Regions from separate parts of the Homo sapiens genome. Here all the other regions are linked to region 1. Evidence: promoter capture Hi-C in 16 types of primary human blood cells and fetal thymus (Javierre and others, 2016). All regions are on one chromosome and are shown on one strand. The core of a region is centred on a gene start or on the middle of the fragment in contact, and the rest is flanking DNA. Distances in the headings are between cores, read along the strand shown. Region 1 holds the start of SPATA20 (spermatogenesis associated 20). Region 2 overlaps SPAG9 (sperm associated antigen 9). Region 3 has its middle 5.8 kb from the start of TOB1. Region 4 overlaps SPAG9 (sperm associated antigen 9).

The links. The method cuts DNA at HindIII sites, captures the fragments that hold promoters and counts their contacts. A CHiCAGO score of 5 or more calls a contact.
Region 2: a contact is called between a fragment that was not itself captured here and the fragment with the promoter of SPATA20 in region 1, in 4 of 17 cell types (total CD8 T cells, endothelial precursors, naive B cells and 1 more). The highest score is 7.8, in total CD8 T cells.
Region 3: a fragment that was not itself captured here is called in contact with the fragment with the promoter of SPATA20 in region 1 in 1 of 17 cell types (total B cells); the score reaches 5.2 in total B cells.
Region 4: a fragment that was not itself captured here is called in contact with the fragment with the promoter of SPATA20 in region 1 in 1 of 17 cell types (non-activated CD4 T cells); the score reaches 5.1 in non-activated CD4 T cells.

The regions. Positions count from the first base shown.
Region 1 is chr17:50,545,724-50,548,423 of GRCh38, forward strand. It overlaps SPATA20 (spermatogenesis associated 20), which reads left to right and starts at 1,451. Exons shown (of 17, transcript NM_022827.4): 1 at 1,451-1,562; 2 at 1,997-2,044; 3 at 2,560-2,700. The coding sequence starts at 1,486. RefSeq lists a silencer at 1,461-1,730. The HindIII fragment of the contact is 19,639 bases long and covers 1-2,700 here.
Region 2 is chr17:50,973,530-50,976,229 of GRCh38, forward strand. It overlaps SPAG9 (sperm associated antigen 9), which reads right to left. Exons shown (of 30, transcript NM_001130528.3): 28 at 1,242-1,418. Among named protein-coding and RNA genes, the nearest start is that of TOB1-AS1, 110 kb to the left of the region's middle. The HindIII fragment of the contact is 740 bases long and covers 912-1,651 here.
Region 3 is chr17:50,859,193-50,861,892 of GRCh38, forward strand. No RefSeq gene overlaps it. Among named protein-coding and RNA genes, the nearest start is that of TOB1, 5.8 kb to the right of the region's middle. The HindIII fragment of the contact is 4,656 bases long and covers 1-2,700 here.
Region 4 is chr17:50,991,616-50,994,315 of GRCh38, forward strand. SPAG9 (sperm associated antigen 9) reads right to left here. Exons shown (of 30, transcript NM_001130528.3): 19 at 2,149-2,320. Among named protein-coding and RNA genes, the nearest start is that of TOB1-AS1, 130 kb to the left of the region's middle. The HindIII fragment of the contact is 1,461 bases long and covers 582-2,042 here.

The sequences.
Region 1 (2,700 bases), core at 201-2,700:
CTTCTACTGTCATCAAAAATCCCCTTCTCTGGCCAGGCACGGTGGCTCACACCTGTAATCCCAGCACTTCGGAGGCTGAGGCAGATGGATCGCTTGAGGTCAGGAGTTTGAGACCAGCCTAGGCAACATGGCGAAACCCCGTCTCTACTAAAAATACAAAAATTAGCTGGGCATGGTGGCGCGCTCCTGTAGTCCCAGCTACTTGGAAGGCTGAGGCACAAGAATCGCTTAAACCTAGGAGGTGGAGGTTGCAGAGAGCCAAGATCCACTGCACTCCAGCCTGGGCAACAGAGTGAGACTCTGGCTAAAAAAAAATGGGGTCGGGTATGGTGGCTCATGCCTGTAATCCCAGCACTTTGGGAGGCCAAGGCAGATGGATCACCTGAGGTCAGGAGTTCGAGACCAGCCTTGAACCCAGGATGCGGAGGTTGCAGTGAGCCGAGATCACACCACTGCACTCCAGCCTGGGTGACAGAGCGAGACTCTGTCTCAAAAAATAAAAATCCCCTTCTTACAGTTCACGAGTGTCTCCAAGATCTTGCCTCTGCCCTCATCTACTGCCTGTCTTCCCTCTTTCTGCAGTTGCTCAGCCCGGACTCACTGACAAGCCACGGGACCTTTGCACAAACTGTACCTCTGCCTCCTTCCCCAGCACTCCCCCTGAGCACCCTCCAAGTTCCTTTCTCTCGTTCTCCATGGCTTCACAAATGTGATTTCCTCAGGGAAGCCTTCATCCTTTGCCCCTTCCACCAGATCAGGTCACTTGTTACGTTATACCCTCACGGACTTGTCACGTGGGTGTTTATCGGTATGGCTGTCGAATTAGCATCTGCCGCTCTCAACAGACTGTGAGCCATGTGAGGGCAGGAGCCTTGTTTCTCTCTGCCCACCATTGTATACTCAGTGCCTTGCAGAGTGGCAGGCGGCAGGCACTTAATAAATATTGGCTGAATGTAGCCAATGAGGCCATGTGTAACCTATGAGACATAAAATGGGCTCATCAGTATTATTTAAGGAAGACTTCCTGGAGTGGGTAGGATTTGAGTAGGACCTAGAGACGAGGAGGCTGCAAAAAGCAAACCTTGTTAGCTGGTGGACCTGGCCAAGGTACGCCTTCGCCTTGGATCTCATTTCTCATTTGTAAAATGGGCAGGGGTTGGACAAAATGAGCTGAAGCTCTGGCATCCCATGTCCCTAGCATCTCCCAGCCCTAGATCCCACAACTCTCCCTATTCCCTTGAGAAGGGCTGTCCTCCCCAGGCAGGGGCAGAGCCCAGTTTTATGCACAGAATGGGTCCTCCCAAGGCTCGGGTGCCTGATCTGCAATTCTGCGCTCCGCCGCAGGGCGACGCTCGGAGACCAGCCACACTGTCCCAAGTCCCGGCGAAGACCCGCCCGCGGCTCCGTAGGTGCCCGGCCCGCCCCTCGCAGCCTCCTGACTTCCCTTCCTGTCCTCAGCGGCCGGGCCCACGGCCCCGAGCAGCCATGCTGGGCGCGCGGGCCTGGTTGGGCCGCGTCCTTCTGCTGCCCCGCGCCGGTGCAGGCCTCGCCGCGAGCCGCAGGTACGGGCGGGCGAGCGGGCCCCTAGGGCACTCCCTGCGCCTGCCTGCGGGCCCAGTGGAGGGTCTTCCGGACACCGGTCCCCAGTGCCAGTCTGGACCACCCCTGCATGCCTGGCCCTTCCCCCACCCCACCTCCGGTCTGCTCCTGAGACCTGGCTCTGGCTGTAAGGCCCTCCTCCCCTCCTCTCCCGTCCTCATCCCTTCCCTCCTCTCCCCTTCCTTCCAGTGCAGTGCCAGCTCCTCAGGGACTGTTCTGACACTGCTTCCAGGAAGCCTTCCTTGCACCCCAGTGCTGGATGCTGGGTCAAGGGCCTTTCTCCAATAGTACCCTGTGCCCTGTCACAGTCCTTTATTGCTGCATGGACCTTTCGTTATTTAGGTCTGCCTGCAGTCCCACTTCCAGGCTGAACTCCCTGAGGTCTCTGATTCCCTAGGTGTCCTGGAGTCTGGCCCAGGACCTGGCCCCACAGGAGTCCCAGCAGGTGGGCGCTGAGTGAGGGAGTCCCCATGTCTGGTTTCCTCTGTTTGTCCCTCACCTGGTCGAGTCCCAGACCCTACTGATCTTGGCCTGTCCAGCCACCAACAGTAGGCTGCCTTCCAGTGGGGCCACACCCAGGCCTGCCAGAGAGATGCCTCCAAGCAGCTGCTCCAGGAAGGGCCGGGGGAGGGGCCTGGGGAGGGGTAAGAATGGAGCCCCAAGAACCATTCTGCCCATTGTGACCCGCCCTGACCTCACAGCCATCCTTCCCACCGCCAGGCCCAGGAGGTTGGGGGAGACTAACCTGGCAAGGAGCCCCCAATGAGCCACCTCTCCTCACCCCCCAAAAAACATAAGGGGGAGCACAAAGGCCACAGTCTCCCCCATGGTTCAGAAAGGTGGGTTGGGCTGGGAGCAGGGGTCCTACTGGGGTGCTGAGTGAAATGGAGCAGGTGCTGGGGGGCCTGGGAGAAGGTGGGTGGAGGCCCCTGGCTTGCCTGATGCACCAGTCCTCGCCAGGGGTAGCTCCTCCCGGGACAAGGACCGAAGTGCGACGGTCAGTAGTTCAGTGCCCATGCCTGCTGGAGGGAAAGGAAGCCATCCTTCATCTACACCCCAGAGGGTCCCCAACCGCCTGATCCACGAGAAGTCACCATACCT
Region 2 (2,700 bases), core at 32-2,531, 430 kb after region 1:
CCTTGCCCCATGTACATAAAATCATTTAATCTTTGGAAGACCCTTGGGAAAATAAGTATGATGAGTAATTTGACGTGTTAGCTCGATACCCAGATATTTGGTCAAACACCAGTCTAGATATCATTGTAAGTCTTTTTTAGATGTGATTAACATTTAAAACAACAGACTTTGAGTAAAGCAGATTACACGCCACAGTGTGGGTGGGCCTCATTTAACCAGTTGAAAGCCTTAGAAGAAAAAGACTGAGGGATCCAGAGGAAAGAGAAATGTTGCCTCCAGACTGCTTTCAGATTTGGACTGCAACATCCACTCTTCCCGGGGTCTCCAGCCTGCCAGCCTGCCCTGCAGATTTCAGACCTGCTAGTCCCCACAACTGTGTGACCCAATTTCTTAACAGTAACTCTCTCTTCATACGCACATACACATGCATCCTATTGGTTCTGTTTCTCTGAAGAACCCTGACTAATATACTACATCACACAGTTAGTTGGTGGGGGAAAGTCAGATCTGAACTTCGTCTAGCTCCTAAACTTGCCTCTTATGGGAAAAAAAAATTCAAAACCTGTGTCCTGCTTACAGATGGTCAGTGACATCACTTAAGTATTGTCAATGGATAATTTGTCATTTTTCACTGGACATCATCACTTCCATCTTTTTTCTGGGTGGTGCTTTATAGCTCCCAGTAGCATTTTCATTAATTTTCATAACAAATGAAGTAGGCAGAGCAGATATTAATCACATCCACCTAGGAGTGAGGAAATGAGTCTCTGAGGTTAAGTGCCTTGCTCGAGGTTAGTGGCAGAGACACAGGGGCCAGACCCCCAGGCCTCCTAGTTCACTGCTTTTTCCTATTAAGCTGCTAAAGGTACCAGAGTGCATTCTCTCTTCCTCCATGCAGCCTTGATGATAGAAGCTTCTTTCTAGTGATTTCTCTTATTAGGTCAAGACCATTTTTGGCAATCCACGATGATAAAATAATACTACTGCTTTTCAAAAGTAAGCAAGTCTCCTAAAGAAAAATCAACAAATTTATCTTTGGGGGTGGGAGAGATATTCCAAAGTAACTTCATTCAAGTATCCCTATAGCACCTTAGTCACACCTCCATTACAGAACTTCCTTCGTATATATTGAAATTACCTGCAATTCGAGTACTTAGCCTTAGACTATTAGGTAGTGGAACCAAGAGATGACAGAAGAGAGACAATTACATGGAACATCTCAACAGAATAATCTAACATACCTGGGACTGCCACAAAGAATTTCACAGCATCCCGGTGCCCATGGAAGCAAAGCTGTGCATGTGCCATTGAACAATAGGGTATAAATGTCCCTGGAGTCACTTTATCACTGTTTTCATCACCATATACACGGATTACACTTCCAGGACGATTTCCTGGTACACCTGAGGTTTTATTTGCTGCAACAGAAAAACCAAATACCAAATATTTTCCCCTAGAAAACAGTAATGAATGTAAGAGGTTACTGGTTAATCCTTATGATATTATCTAAAAGCTACAGCCAGTTGAGATAAAACAAGGATGGCAATGCCAATTCAAGACAAAGCTGGGAAAAAAAGAGATACAGCATGCTAGTTATTTTTAAGTACCTCAGTAAATGGAGTAGGGGATTTTGCCAGTCTAGCAATAAGTAAGCTTATTTTTTAAACACATCTATTCATTTAAAAAATAATTTTAGTTAAAAAAAAAACAAATTTGAATCTTAGTTGTTTCTTGTTTTGTTTTTAATGCACATGTTAGAAAACTAACCATTATACAGTTTAAAGTAAATGGGTATATTTGCAAATAAAGTCTTTCTTTATAGTTTATCTTCTGATTTTTCTCCCTCACAGTAAGAATATTTCCCTTGAGGGGGTTGGTAAAAAGTTGTGCTTACAAGAATCCAGCCACTACAATAGAGCAGCTTTTATTGATACCAGACTGATGGTGTGCTGCGTACTGTAAAAGACCAGACTCACAAAACATCCCCATTCCATGGGCAAGTAAGTAAATGAAAGAAATATGATCGGTAACAAGAGTAAACGATGTAAATTAATGACAGCTTTAAGAGATGTTTCATGTTTATACTGGAAGGAAAACAAAGTCTGAAAGAAAGTTCAGCTGCAACAAAAGATGATAAATAGACTAAGCTGCTGAGCAGTTTGGTGGCCATGTAACAAACATTAAAAAAAAAAAAAAGACACCTGCTGCGATGCAGTGACTGCAAGTGGATAACATTTAGGAACATTCAAGAGGGTATTCTAGAGGAGTGGTAACAGCCTTACAGTGGCTATTAGAAGCCAGGAAGAAGAGTTTGGTTCAGAATCTGCACTTACCCCTCAGCCCCAGTAAACGTCCCTGGTGGAGGATTACGGCTAAAGTGAGAAAGGAGGAAAGGGGACATGGAGAGGTGCATGACAGGGAGGAGAGAATTACTGTGAGCCACCACTCTCAGCGTCTTCTATCTGGTAAACCTGGTGCTCAAAGCCCCTAACGAAAATAACAAGATCCCACTTGGCATAATACCAAGTAATACATAAAGTTCTTCCCAAGGCTTCTATTAGAATCTCTGCTGAAAAAGGAAAATCTGATTTATGGTGTTTTTTTTTTAAATAATAAAGCAATTTTAGTGAATCTGAATCAAAACACTAAGAACTCAATGTGCAGCATTTCCTAAATGCTAAAATTTCTCCTTTATTTCTC
Region 3 (2,700 bases), core at 98-2,597, 310 kb after region 1:
CCAAAGTGCTGGGATTACAGGTATGAGCCACAGCACCTGCCCTGGAAAAATATTTTAAACTCAGAGTACCTTTAGTTTCACCTTCAAAAGCTAAGTTAACTAATCACAGCATATATTGTTATCTTTAAGGAGGCATTTTGAAGAAGGCCTATATTTACATTTGCCATCTATTATAGGCGAAAAGGACATTTCACAATGTACCTGATTTCAGAAACGACAAGGCAGGGCAGAAAACGAATATACTAAACTTAGAAAGCCATTTTTTGGTATAATATTCCTTACTCATCCATGAGCTATGAAATCTGTAAGGCAACATTTTGGACACTCAGGGTATTCAGAGGCTGCTACAGTATCTGTAGTTATAGGAGTCAAAAAGATGGGAAAGGCCTGTGAAAATAACGAATTCATCAAATTGTCAACCGAAATGGTCTCCCCACAGAGAGTCAAAAGTGTGATGGCACCTTGGGGAGAAAATGACTTGGAACTAAGATGTAACCTTTTCTCAGATGTGCTAGGCAAAAGCACCTTTTAAAAAATTCCCATTCCTAATGAACAAAAAGGGCATGTAAACAGGGCCTTTGTTCATTTTTTAAAAAATTATGAAGTCCTCGCTGGATGCGTTGGCTCGCACCTGTAATCCCAGCATTTTGGGAGGCCAAAGCGGGAGGATCATGAGATCAGGCGATCGAGACCATTCTGGCCAACCCCGTCTCGTCTCTACTAAAACTATAAAAATTAGCTGGGCGTGGTGGCGCGCGTCTGTAGTCCCAGCTACTTGGGAGGTTGAGGCAGGAGAATCACTTGAACCCGACAGGCGGAGGTTGCAGGGAGCCAAGATTTCACCACTGCACTCCAGCCTGGCAACAGAGCGAGACTCTGTCTAAAAAAAAAAAAAGATGAAGTTCTCAAGGACACCAAGCTCAAGTTTTAATAAAACCAATCAAGATCACATTTTGAGTTAGTCATTCTCCGATGTCAAACATATGTACCAAGATGAAATTTCCCTAAGATTTTTGTCGATACATATATCCTTAAGATCTGAAACAGATATTCAGGCTTATGTTAACCTCAGTATTTAAAATCTGAATATATTAGTGCTTGGCTGGGTGTGGTGGCTCACGCCTGTAATCTCAGCATTTTGGGAGGCCAATGCGGGCGGATCACCTTAGTTCAGGAGTTTGAGACCAGCCCAGGCAACGTGGCGAAACCCTGCCTCTACAAAAAATACAAAAATTAGCAGGGAACGGTGGCACGCAGCTATAATCCCAGCTATTCAGGAGAGTGAGACAGGAGAATCGCTTTAGTGGAGGTTGCAGTAAGCCAAGATGGCCCCTTTGCACTCCAGCCTGGGTGACAGAGTGAGACCTTGTCTCAAAATAAAATGAATATATTAGTGCTCCAGACAGTTTCAAATTCTATTGTTGACCAGGCGCAATGGCTCATGCCTGTAATCAGAGCACTTTGGGAAGCCAAGGCAGGCAGCTCATTTGAGGCCAGGAGTTCGAGACCAGCCTGGTCAACATGGTGAAACCCCGTCTCTACTAAAAATACAAAAATTAGCCAACATGGTGGCGGGCGCCTGTAGTCTCAGCTACTCGGGAAGTTGAGGCAGGAGAATCACTTGAACCTGGGAGGTGGAAGGTTGCAGTGAGCCGAGATGGTGCCACTGCACTCCAGCCTGGGTGACAGAGCAAGAGACTCCGTCTCAAAAAAAAAAAAAATTCTATTATGTTCCGTCCAGCTGCCTTATGATTTTCAGAAAAAGCACATTACACTTGAGCCTTCATTTATAAGTAGAGTTTTCTCCCAAATGTAACTTTATCAGTCTGTAGCAGAAACTAGTGCTTAAAGCCATTATCCTGATGGTTCTTACAGCTATTCAAACTTCGTGATCACAAAAGCATGTAAGTGGTAAGTGTTGGCAGACCAGATCTCTGCTGCTTGCACCCATTATTCCAATACTTCTTCATAGCCTCGTTCTGTTCCCTAAAGAACAAAAGCCTCACCATGGAGCTGACAAACAGCTTAGCTCTGTTATTTCCAGTGCTTGTTTCCTTAAAACTTTGTATTGCTCTACACTGCATGGGTAAATGACAAAAGGCTTTTGTAGACTGGTGTCCAAAAAGCTCATGAGACCAAATTTATTTCACTGGTAACCCAGGCAGTGCTGGTTTCTTACTATAAAAGTACATATAAAGTTTTTTAAGACAGCTTTCTCACCAATACTATGTCAACACTGTATCAAATGGACGTTAACTTTCTCACCAATACTATGTCAATACTGTATCAATTGACATTTAGTGAAATGACTCATTTAGTGTTCTTCTCCCCAACTCTTCAGTTTTAAAAAACTCCATCCTCACCAAGCCACTCCAATTTGATACATTGTCAATATCTCTAAATCCTTCAAACCAGCAGGTTGGGTACCCACTTGCAAAAAATTAAATACATAAGCGTTTTTGCTGGGAAAATGAAAATGCTAACATCTAACCATCTGTCCAGCCGTGAATAGATTTTGACCATAAGTTCTCTAGCTATATGCAATAGCTAAACTTTAAAGATTAGTAAAGTGATGTAAATTTTTCTAAGTTCAGTCAGCCGTTTTGTCCAAGCAAGTTTCCTCAGCAAAAACAGAAAACTGATCCAATGCTCTCTCCATATAAATTTCAAATAAATCATCTCAGATTACACGAAGGAATT
Region 4 (2,700 bases), core at 62-2,561, 450 kb after region 1:
CCATCACCATTATTTTTTTTTTTTGGCGACAGAGTTTCACTCTTGTTGCCCAGGCTGGTGTGCAATGGTACAGTCTCGGCTCACTGCAACCTCTGCCTCCCAGGTTCAAGCAATTCTCCTGCCTCAGCCTCCCAAGTAGCTGCGATTACAAGCGCCTGCCACTGCACCTGGCTAATTTTTGTATTTTTAGTAGAAACGGGGTTTTACCATGTTGGCCAGGCTGGTCTCGAACTCCTGACCTCAGGTGATCCGCCCACCTCAGCCTCCCAAAGTGTCTGGATTACAGGTGTAAGCCACCATGCCAGGTCTTTTTTTTTTTTTTTTTTTTTTTTTTTTTAAAACACAGGGTCTTACTCCCATTGCCCAGGTGGGTGTGTAGTGGTGCAATCGTAGCTCACTGCAGTCTTGACCTCCCCGACTCAAGTTATCCTCCCGCCTCATTTTTTGATTTTTTGTGGAATGAGGTCTCACTATATTGCCCAGACTGGTCTCAAACTTCTGGGCTCAAGTGATCGTCCCACCTTGGCCTCTGAAAGTGCTGGGATTATGAGTGTGAACCTCCATGGCCGGCCTATTTCTAAAGCTTTTCCATCACCTCACACAGAAACTCTATGTTTTTATGAATGTGCCTATTCTAGATATCTCATATAAGCGGAATCATATAATATTTGTCCTTTTGTGTCCGACTTATTTCCTTTGGCATAGTGTTTCCAAGGTTCATCTGTGTTATAACATGTGTCAGAACTTCTACCTAGAGGATAATGTATTGTACTCTTAAAAATTTGTTAAGAGGGCTGGGCATCCCAATACTTCGGGAGGCCAAGGCAGGCAGATCACTTGAGCCCAGGAGTTCCAGACCAGCCTGGGCAACATGGTGAAACCCTGCCTACAAAAAGTACAAACAACTTAGCCAGGTGTGGTAGTGTGCGCCTGTGGTCCCAGCTACTTGGGAGGCTGAGCTGGGAGGATCACTTGAGCCCGGAAGGTCATGGCTGCAATGAGTACAATGAGTTGTGACTGCACCACTGCAATCCAGCCTGGGCAACAGAGTGAGGCCCTGTCTCAAAAAAACAAAAACAAAAATGTGTTAAGAGGGTAGATCTCAGGCTGGGTTCAGTGGCTCATGCCTGTAATCCCAGTACTTCGGGAGGACGAAGCGGGTGGATCACCTGAGGTCAGGAGTTCAAGACTAATCTGACTGCCCGGGGTGGTGGGTCACACCTGTAATCTCAGCACTTTGGGAGACCGAGGCGGGCAGATCACGAGGTCTAGGAGTTCGAGACCAACCTGGCCAATATGGTGACACCCCATTTCTACCAAAAATACAAAAATTAGCCGGGTGTAGTGGCTCGTGCCTGTAGTCCCAGCTACTTGGGAGGCTAAGGCAAAAGAATCACTTGAACCCAGGAGGTAGAGGTTGCAGTAAGCCGAGACGGTGCCACTGCACTCCAGTGTGAGTGACAGAGTAAGACTCCATCTCAAAAAAAAAAAAAAAAAAAGACTAGCCTGACCAACATGGTAAAACCCCGTCTCTAGTAAAAATGCAAACAATTAGCCGGGCGTGGTGGCAGGTGCCTGTAATTCCAGCTACTCGGGAGGCTGAGGCAGGAGAATCACTTGAACCTGGAAGGTGGAGGTTGCAGTGAGCCGAGATCATGCCATTGCACTCCAGCCTGGGTGACAGAGTAAGACTCTGTCTCAAAAAAAAAAAAAAAAAAAAAGTAGAACTCATATTAAGTATTCCACAATAAAATATAAAAAAGAACTTCATTCCTTTTTATGGCTGAATAATATTCCAACATATGGATATATCACATACACTTCTTTAATTTTTAAACTAATGTTTTAACATCACATAATGTTTAATCCAAAACTTTAGAAGACCTTTCCTTATTAATTAATCCAAACAGTCCTCTGGCTCCCAGTTATTTTCTCATATTCCCATTGTTTTATTTTCTTCACAGTATTTTTCACTACCTGAAAATATCTTCTTTATTCAATGGTTTCCAGTTTGTTTTTTAATCTTCCCTAACTAGAACATAAGCTTCATGACAGCAAGGTGCAGAACTGCATCTTCAGCTGCTACATCAGTGCCCAGCAGGTAGGTGGATGGAGGGGAGGGCAGAGAAACGCATGACTCACTCTTACCTGGCACACTTGCAATGCACAGAACATGAGAGTTGCAAACAGTGAAACTGTCTAGGATGTTGCCAGGTTGAACAGCATCAATAATAAGAACTTTTGTAGCCGAATGAGTGCTGGTACAGATCCAAACTAGACTGGATAATTCTTCTTGATTTTTTAACTCCTTCTGCTGTTCCTGTATAGGCAAAGGAGGAAAAATGTTTAAAACAATATGTATGTACAAATATTCATAAGGTGGTGCTGTTACAGTAAAAGGCAATACTATTTCAAATTTATTTCCAGATTATTTGGAAGGGTAAAAATACAACCACTGATGTGGTTTGGCTGCGTCCCTACCCAAAACTCAACTTGAATTGTATCTCCCCGAATTCCCACATGTTGTGAGAGGGACCCAGGGGGAGGTAATTTAATCATGGGGGCCAGTCTTTCCCATGCTATTCTCGTGATAGTGAATAAGTCTCACGAGATCTGATGGGTTTATTAGGGGTTTACACTTTTGCTTCTTCCTCATTTTCTCTTGCTGCCACCATGTAAGAAGTGCCTTTCATCTCCTGT